3 separate regions of the Homo sapiens genome follow, and all the other regions are linked to region 3. Evidence: promoter capture Hi-C in 16 types of primary human blood cells and fetal thymus (Javierre and others, 2016). All regions are on one chromosome and are shown on one strand. Each heading gives the region's core, a stretch centred on a gene start or on the middle of the fragment in contact. The rest is flanking DNA. Distances are from core to core; before and after follow the strand shown. Region 1 has its middle 150 kb from the start of MINDY3. Region 2 has its middle 170 kb from the start of LINC02654. Region 3 holds the start of C1QL3 (complement C1q like 3).

The links. Contacts are between HindIII fragments. The CHiCAGO score rates a contact against its expected background, and 5 or more counts as called.
Region 1: a contact is called between a fragment that was not itself captured here and the fragment with the promoter of C1QL3 in region 3, in 1 of 17 cell types (endothelial precursors). The highest score is 5.5, in endothelial precursors.
Region 2: a contact is called between a fragment that was not itself captured here and the fragment with the promoter of C1QL3 in region 3, in 1 of 17 cell types (endothelial precursors). The highest score is 5.3, in endothelial precursors.

Annotation. Positions count from the first base shown.
Region 1 is chr10:16,010,310-16,013,716 of GRCh38, forward strand. No RefSeq gene overlaps it. Among named protein-coding and RNA genes, the nearest start is that of MINDY3, 150 kb to the left of the region's middle. The HindIII fragment of the contact is 2,320 bases long and covers 188-2,507 here.
Region 2 is chr10:16,110,307-16,113,271 of GRCh38, forward strand. No RefSeq gene overlaps it. Among named protein-coding and RNA genes, the nearest start is that of LINC02654, 170 kb to the right of the region's middle. The HindIII fragment of the contact is 998 bases long and covers 772-1,769 here.
Region 3 is chr10:16,520,469-16,523,490 of GRCh38, forward strand. C1QL3 (complement C1q like 3) reads right to left here and starts at 1,411. Exons shown (of 2, transcript NM_001010908.2): 1 at 10-1,411. The coding sequence starts at 597. RefSeq lists silencers at 262-321, 632-851, 1,122-1,351. The HindIII fragment of the contact is 3,157 bases long and covers 1-2,223 here.

The sequences.
Region 1 (3,407 bases), core at 98-2,597, 510 kb before region 3:
CCTGCCACTGTGCTTCCTTATGCCATCTGGACTGGAGGTGGACTTGTTAAAAAAACACCCAGAAAGGACACTCTCACTAATTTGAGCCTTAAAGAGAGAAGGAAGTCCTTAGTCTCTCTCCCCAGCAAACAGATCTTTATAGAGTTTCCTGGCCGCACAGGCAGCCAAGATGTTGCTAAATCTGGGAAGCTTATCGAGAGCAGTCTGAGACTTCTCTCCACAACTGTGTTCAGTTACACATGGTCTGTTTGTTGCTTTAAATGAACATCACAAGCATAATCATAACATACACCTGTATGGAACTGTGCACTTTTCAAATTAGTTCCACACACAAGGCAGAATTTCATCATCCCCAAAACTCTGAAGTCCTGAGACTCAGAGAGTCTATATGATCAAGGAGAAAAGCATGTCAAGTCGAATGGTGCCAGGACTTCCAATTCCCCATCCAGTGCTCTGCACCAGTGTGGATCATCTTCAGCAGGCTTCACCACTGAGACGTGAGATATGACTTTGCCTACAACAGCAATTAGGAGGGGGGAAATGAAAAGGTCAATTTCCACCCCACATTGATAGATACATGATTGAGTCATTATTTCTCTGTGCCAAAGCTGGAACAAACTGTATCCAGCAGAGTTCCTTTTAAGGAGAGCATTGTGTGTGTGTGGACAATGTTACTATGTTTGCCAGGCTGGTCTTGAACTCCTGACCTCAAGTGATCTGCCCACCCCAGCCTCCCAAAGTGCTGGAATTATAGGTGTGAGCCACCGTGCTTGGCTATGTTCTGTATTATAAAGATCTCCCTGATCCAGCAAATCTGCAGGCAAATAATGAAGCACATGGAAAGGCTGGGTCAGGTGCATGTCTTTTGGACAATGTGTGGATCCCCCAAATCTGCAGGTAAAGAATGAAGCACATGGAAGAGCTGGAGTGGGTGCATGTCTTTTGGACAACAGGTGGATACTTTGTGTCGCTATTTAAAAGGGTAGAAACACCTGGGGGCTGAGAGATGACTAAAAATTCAATTAGGCCAGGTGCAGTGGTTCATGACTGTAATCCCAGTATTTTGGGAGGCTAAGAAAGGTGGATGGCTTCAGCCCAGGAGTTTGGGACCAGCCTGGGCAACATAGCAATACCCTGTCTCTAAAAAAAAAAAAAAATACAAAAATTAGCTAGGTATGGTGGCATGCACCTGTAGTCCCAGCCACTTGGGAGGCTGAGGTGGGAACGTCACTTGATCTCAGGAGGTTGAGGCTGCAGTGAGCTGTGATCATGTCATTGCACCCTAGCCTGGGTGACAGAGCAAGACCCTGTTTTTTTGTTTGTTTGTTTGCTTTTGCTTTTTCTAAAAAAAAAAAAAATAGAGAATTCAATCAAGGATGCCAGAAAAGTTGTGCAAGTTCTCTGAACTGTCACAGGTTGTGGGTTTGGGATTTAAGCCAAGTTCAACCACATTTATGAAGGGCAGGAGGTATCAGCAGGCATCTGGGTTACTTTAGAAATCAGAGTGCATTTTCAAAGTACTTATTTGTATGTCTTTGATCCAGTGTCTAATTAAATACACAAAAGAAAACCATGTGTATATACATATACAAATATACACACACACAATTTCCTTAGAATAATTGAGAAAAATGTGTCATTGTGATATAGAATTTTAGTTTAAGTGGGGAAGAACATTACAGTTTCACTTGCACTCTCTTGAAAAGGGAACTTTAGCTAATAATGAGTCCATGCTCACTGGAGACATTTAAGAAGACACTGATGAGATCTGTGGAGGATATTATAGAGGCAGCTCCTTCACTGGCTAGAACACTGATTCCCATCAACTCTAAAATCTGTCCTTTATTTTTTTAATTACAAGAGAAAAACAAAGGGCATGAAGCCTTCAGAAATTCCACCTAAGGTAATTTCTAAATCTTAATAACACAAAAGACAAGCATAGCAAAGAATTTAAGTGTAATTTGGCCTTAACTTTCAATTTCTGACAGGGTTAGATATTTTCTCCACTGAGTCGTCTGATAGTTTGATGCTGAAGCTCTTTACCCTTTGACTCAGATGACTGGATTCTGAATGAAAGGGCTGGGGCAGGTTTTATACACTCATAGTAGCATTTTCAGATCTTTTATTTCACAACAAAGACGCACCTTTCCTCTTCCTTATTATTGCTGATGATGCGAAGAGAGGCAGGGAAGTGCTGAATGAAAAGAGATGCATGTCTAATTTTCATTGCAAGAGAGACACTGTACAAAGTGTTTTACAAAGTGGAAAACTCAAGGATTAAAAAAAACACCCAAACAACAACAAAACCCCTCCTTCAATTTTGTCTAACACCAAACCATGAGATTGAGCCCAGCCAATAGATTGTGATTCCAGGTGAAGACCGCAGGCAGGCACAACTAGTACCATGCAGCATGTGGAAACTGTGAAATGTAGGGTAAAACTGCAGAATTTAAAGTCACACATTGATAAGATCACAAGGTGGAACTCTTTGAGACAGGAAGAAAGCAAGCTTAGGTAGAACTGACCTCTGAAATGAAGGAAGAGAAGAAGGGACAAGAAACTCTGGGAACGTGAAGGGGGCATCACAGGCAGTCAAGAAATAGGATAAGTGTATTTGCTTCCTTTTGCTGCTGTGACAAGTAACCACAAACTTAGTGGTTTAGAGCAATACAAGTTTATGATCCTACAGTTCTGAAGGTCAAAAGTCCAAAATCACTCTCAGGGGGCTAAGTTCACACTATTGTCTGGCCTGTGTTCCTTCTGGAGGCTCCAATGGAGAAAACATTCCTTGCCTTTTCCAGCTTGTAGAGGCTGCTGATATTCCTCAGCTCATGGGGTGCTATGGTTTGGCTGTGTCCCCACCCCAATCTAATCTTGAATTGTAGCTCCCCTAATTCCCACATGTTGTGGGAGGGACCAGGTGGGAGGTAATTCCCATCAAGGTAGATAATTCCCATCAAGGAGGTAATTGAAGTGGGGCGGGGGGTGGGGGGGGCAGTTTCCCCCATACTGTTCTTGTGGTAGTGAATAAGATTCACCAAGCCCCTTTCGTTTGGTTCTCATTCTCTCTTGTCTGCTGCCATGTAAGACGTGACTTTTGTCTCCTGCCATGATTGTGAGGCCTCCCCAGCCATGTGGAACTGTGAGTCCATTAAATCTTTTTTCTTTATAAATTACCCAAGTCTCAGGTATGTATTTATTAGCAGCATGAAAACGGACTAATACTTGGGGGCATCACTCTAACTTTTGCTTCCACAGTCACATTGTCTTCTTTCATCTTTATCCTCCCATATCCCTCTTAAAAGGATCCTTGGGATCACATGGACTGCACTTGGATCATCCAGGAAAACCTCTCCATTTCAGCATCTTTAATTTAATCACATCCATGAAGTCCCTTTTACTATCTA
Region 2 (2,965 bases), core at 21-2,520, 410 kb before region 3:
CCACAACCTAATCTCCAGAAATAGTAACATATTACCTTATATGGTAAAAAGGACTTGCTAGATGCGATTAAGTGAAGGATCTTGAGTAAGGGAGGTTATCCTAGATTATGCACGTGGGTCCACAGTGATCAAAAAGGCCCTTATAAGAAGGTGCAAGAGCATCATTGTCAAAGAGAAAGAATAAGTAGGGACAGAAATGGAGGTTAAAAAGGAGGTAATATGCTACATTTCTGGCTTTTCAAGATGTAGGAAGAGCCACGAGTCAAATGATGCAGGCAGTGTCTAGATTACAGAAGTGTCCAATCTTTCTGCTTCCCTGGGCCACATTGGAAGAAGAAGAATTGTCTTGGGCCACACATAAAATACACTAACACTAGCAATAGCTGATGAACAAAAAAAAAAAAAAAAGAAAGAAAAAGAAAAAGAAAAAAGAAAGAAAAGAAAAATTGCAGGCATGGTGGCTCACGCCTGTAATATCCCAGTGCTTTGGGAGGCTAAGGCTGGCGGATCACCTGAGGTCAGGAGTTCGAGACCAGCCTGGACAACATGGTGAAACCCCATCTCTACTAAAAATACAAAAATTAGCCAGGCATGGTGGCGGGTGCCTGTAATCCCAGCTACATAGGAGGCTTAGGCAGGAGAATCGCTTGAACCCGGGAGGCGGAGGTTGGAGTGAGCTGAGATTATGCCAATGCACTCCAACCTGGGTGACAGAGCAAGACTTCATCTTGAAAAAAAAAATTGCAAAAAAAATCTCATAATGTTTTGGAAAGCTTACGAATTTGTGTTGGGCCGCATTTAAAGCCATTCTGGGCTGTATATGACCCATGGACTGCAGGTTGGACAAGTTTACTCTAGAAGCTGGAAAAAGCAAGGAGATGGATTCTTCCTCATTGCCTCCAGGGAGAACGAAGCCTTGCTGTCACCTTCAACTTATCCCAGTGAAACTGATTTGGGACTTTTGGCCTCCAGAACTATAAAATCATAAGTTTGTGTTGTTTTAAGCCACTAAACTTATGGCCATTTTTTTACAGCAGCAATAGAAAACTAACACACCATTGAAAAGGTGATCTTGCGCATGTGAATCATGTTTCAAGTGGTTAGTGAACAAAGTGTCCCTAGAGTGCTATGAATGAGGGGGGCGGGGGGGGGGGCCGGAGTAGGGGCAGCAATCTCCACTTTGACCCTCTTGGTGTAGAGACAAGCAGACTGCACTGCCCCAGAACATATTACCCAATGGCTGCAATTCTGAATGTGGGCTGGTGTGCCTTGGGAAAGGGATAGGAACCTGCTGTGTGTGGAACTAAAAGGCTCTTAGTAAACAATAGACCCACCTTCCCTAACAGTCCCATACTCAGATTGACATAAACCAATAATCATTATGCAACTATGTCAGGTCTCATTTTTGGTGTTTTAAAATAGGATTGATATGACAGTAGCGTTCTAGAAAATAGATCCTTAGAAAACAAGAATATTTAAAGGGAAGGCATAACGCAGAATGAGTAAACTGTGTAGGAGAATACATGTTATGGGGTGAGAGAAGCAGATGCTAAAGAAAAATACCTCTAATTGAAACAAAAATCATGTACACATAAAAAAGCACAAGTACAAATTTTGAAAATATTTCCTAAAAGACTCACCAAAACCAGTTTTTAATGGTTCCCAAAATATTTTGGTGTGGCTTACCATAATACTTCATAATCATATCAAATTTCAGCTAAATGTTACATTACCAAATTGTCGAATTAAATTTTACATTGTTCCCTGAAAGCTTTATGAAGGTATTTCATTAATACCATTGACCCTCGGCATGGTACAGAAGAAAGAGTACAAGATCTAAAAGCACACAGCTGCCTTGTGTCTTTGGACAAGTGACATAATTTCCCTGGGCTACAGTTATCTAATTTATAAAATGAGGGTTGCAAAGTCTCCACTTCATAGGATGTTAAAAGCCTTACAATAAATAATGCCTATAATATTTCTTTTAAAATCTGACACAGAGGCCACTAAATGTTCCTCTCAAAAGACTTCAGAGGTCAATAAAAGAGCTTAATGAGATTACAATAATATAAGTCAGGTGGGCAGGAGCAAGGACCTGAAATGAAACTTATTCATTGAGCCAAGATGGGGACATAGGAGAGAAGTGATCCAGATACAAATACCCAAGGGCCATGCAATCTGGGAATCTGAGTGCTTTTTCCAAGGCATCTTCTCATCATGTTCACTTTCAGTCCAGGCAAGCAATTGACACTATGGAATCCAAGCTGATAATGAGTTCGGAGGTATAAACAGGTTGGCGAAGTACAATGTAGAATGTCTACCCATCAAGAAAGGGTACCAGCCAGGACATAAGACAAGAACCAGGCAGCTTCTCATAAAGAAAATTGGGAAAGACAGATCAAGGCTAAGTCCAATTATAATAACTGGGACATGTCAAGGGGAGCAAGGGTTGGGTCAGAGCTCAGGAACTAAGTGAAAGCTCATTTATATCGGGGTCAGGAGAGAGTAAGGGAACCTAAAATCAAGGCTGGGCACGAGGCTCATGCCTGTAATCCTAGCAGTTTTAGAGGTCTAGGTGGGAGGATCGCTTTAGGTCAGGAGTTTGAGACCAGCCTGGGCAGCATAGCAAGACCCCATCTCAAAGAAGAAAGAACGAAAAAGAAGGAGGAGAAGAAAATAAATACATAAAATACAATCAGGTAAAAATCCTTCTGTCCAGCCAGGATTAGTCTAAGTAACAAGGAAAAGTATCCAGTCTATTGGTAGTATCAAGGAAAAATTATACTGATCAGAATTAAACAGGCAAGAAAAACGTTATTCAAGACTATTACAATATGGGAGATAGATTAAACTCAACTCTGCTCAAACAAGATGGGAGCACTGTGTTGGGATGAGCTAGAGGAAAAGTACTAGAGGACATTAAAGAGGAAGTTAGTCAATGTGATTAGACTTCTTCTGTTTGCTA
Region 3 (3,022 bases), core at 161-2,660:
CGCGCTCACCTGGTTGTTTTTGCAGAGATCAGCCCACATGCTGGTGCCGTCCCCTCCGCGCATCAGGACGTGGTAGGTGAAGAAGTAGATGCCCGGGATGGAGCAGGTGAACTTGCCGGTGGTGGGGTCGTAGTGGTTTCCGAGGTTGGTGACCACGTCGTCGAACTTGAGCACCTCGTAGCCTTCATGCTGCCGCTTGAGGCCGGCGTAGAAGGCGATCTTGGGCACCGTGCTGTAGGTGGCGGCGCTGATGGCCCCGGCCGCGTTCAGGCCGGGCGCCCCGGGCGGGCCCGGCAGGCCTTGGCGGCCCGGCTCGCCCTTCTCGCCCGGGGGCCCCATGGGGCCGGGTGGCCCGGGCTCTCCGGGGGGCCCGCGCGGACCCGCCTTCCCGGGCCTGCCGGCCTCGCCTTTGGGGCCCTGGATGAAGGTGGGCAGGGACTGCATGAGGCCGCGGTCGGGCGTGGCAGCGGTGCTGGGCGCCTTGGTGCCCCCGTAGGGGTCGCAGACCATGCGGCAGGTGCCCAGCATCTCGTAGTGCGCCGACGTGCCGGCCGAGCTCACCAGCACCGGGATGAGGATCACCAGCAGCAGCACCATCACCACCCCCAGCGCCCCGGCGGCGATCAGGCGCCTCCTGCTGCCCACCAGCCGGCTCAGCGCGGGGCGATCCTCTTGTCTGCTTTTGGACAGAATTTTGAAGGTTGGGCGGGGACCTCTTCAGAGCCGAAAACAACCCCCTGCGAACCCCAACTCCCCTGGGCGTGCGTGCGCCGGCCGCTGCTGCCGACTCCTGCTCCCCCCGCGGAGGCTGCGGCTGGGGAGGGAGCGCGGGCGCCCAGTGACTTGAGCCGAAGTCCCGAGCCCGGGGTGGGGGCCGGGGGAGGGGTGCGCGGGGCGCCCTCGCCCCCCGCGAGCTCCTTCGCACCTGTGGCTGCAGCCGGCGCCGGCGCGGCCACCGGGAGGGCAGAGCCAGCCGCCGCCTCCTGAGCTCGCCCGGGCAGCTCACACTTTTATGCCGCCGCCGCCTGCGATCGACTTTTCCGTTTTTGCAGACTGCGCCTGTTCGCACCAACTTTCCGTCTGAAGTTGCCTTTTTCTGCCTCCTCCTCCTCTTCTTTCGCTCGCTCAGTTCGCCCGTCCGCTGCCTTTTTTTTTTATTGCCTCCTTTCTCTCTTCCTCCTTTGCCACCACCACAACTCGAATAGACGCGCACCCCAAAGCCCCGCGTGGGCCCGGGCGTCCCCCGGGTGCGCCCAGCGGCGGCGGCGGCGGGCACGGTCGGCACGGCGAGGCTCAGAGCTGGGGCGGAGGAGCGAGCGAGCAGCGGCGAGCGCCTCACGGCCGGGAGCGGAGCGAGAGAGAGACTGAAGGCAGAATTCTGCCTGGGTACCACCTGCCAGGAGAAGAGGAGGCTGACAAACGCGCGCCGGAGCAATTTATAGGCACCCAAGGCACAGAGGAAGGGGAGCCGCTTTGGCATCTCATTGCAGCATCTGCTCTGCTCATCCCACTCAGAGAGAGTTTGGCATTACTCTGACAATGTGGGATTTTTTTTTTTTTTTCGGCCTCTCTTTTTTTCTCTCTCTGCACATGGATGAACAGTGAGATTCTGAATACTCCCTTGCTGAACCAAGCGATGGCAGGTCCTGCTGGACCCACCTGGGGAAGGGAGACAGCTGTGCGACAGCTTTCAGAGCTCAAGGGTCACACCTAAATCCCCGATTTCCCCACTGCCAGCAGCCCCAGTTGGAGGGTGGAGGTGAAGGTTGAAAGGAGGGTGGCTGAGTTGACAGTTTCTTTGCTAGCTCCTCTACAATCAGTGCTTCAGGTGTTTTCAAAATGCCACTGTTAACAGAAGGAGGGCCTTTTAGAATTTTCCAGATGGTAGATGTGATTTTCTTTTAACCTGATGGTTTTCCTCCTCTGCCTTGTAAATGAATAAGATGTTGCCCCAAGAACAGTGAGGTATGTTGAAAAGCCAAAGAACATTTGTGAATGATTTTAAATGAACATGTCCACCGCCTCTGGGGGAGGAGGGGGTTGGTCCTTTTTACAAATGCTGCACCGTGGTGAGTGCATACATACGTACTGTGCTTACAGTCTTACAGTTCTAGCAGTCTTTCGGGGGATACCGCCAATGGCCCTGAAGTTGCGTTTACTTAAAGTCGCTAAATGTACAAGAAATAACCACTTGTCAAAATGGCGTCAAAAGATCAAGCAAGAAGCTTTTGCACAAGTGCTGGGCAAGGTCTTTTCCTAGCATATGGAAAGAGTTCTATAAGCTCCATAGCAGATTTCCCGAATATACATTGAGGGAGGGGAGAAGTAGGAGAAATACAAGAAAGAAGAGCCCCCATTCTCAGTGGGTGAGCTGCAGAAGGAACAGCATGGTTTATCATATTACTGGAAGGCCTCCAGGGTAGATATCAGGCAAGTTACCCCACCAACAAATACATAAGACACACAAGAATGGCTTTAAATAAATAAGTAGAATTGAATCCTAAATCATACTTTTGCATTCAGGAGCAACAGATGTCAATCAAACGTGGGTGACATTTGCTTGTCAATACGAGGATGATGGCTGGGAAGACGGTGACTTATTACATCAGGGTGAGAATCTGAAATGAGAAAAGCAGGAACAAATAAGACTACAGCAAGCAAACAGTAACATCCTGGGTGACGATCAGCAGCCTGTGATCTTGTCTGCGGGTGTCACAGCATGGACTTCTCCTTTCCTCCCTGTGCCTCAATCTCCCCGCCCCCCAGCCTACTCCAGTCCACCCCACCAATTTAGTTCTTTCTTTCTTTCTTTCTTCTCTGTTTCAAAACAAAATAAGGTCAAACGAGCAGACAGAAGGAAACAAAGACTGAATGATTCTTTTAAGAGAAATGTCAGTAGCTCCTTCAGGCCTTGGCTGGGAGAATCAACCCTAAAAGCTGTGCTGTGTGGCTCAGCGGGGTGGGGGTCTCCACCTCCTGGCTACTGAGAGAGCCACACTGCTCCTGGTATTGGAAAATAGGG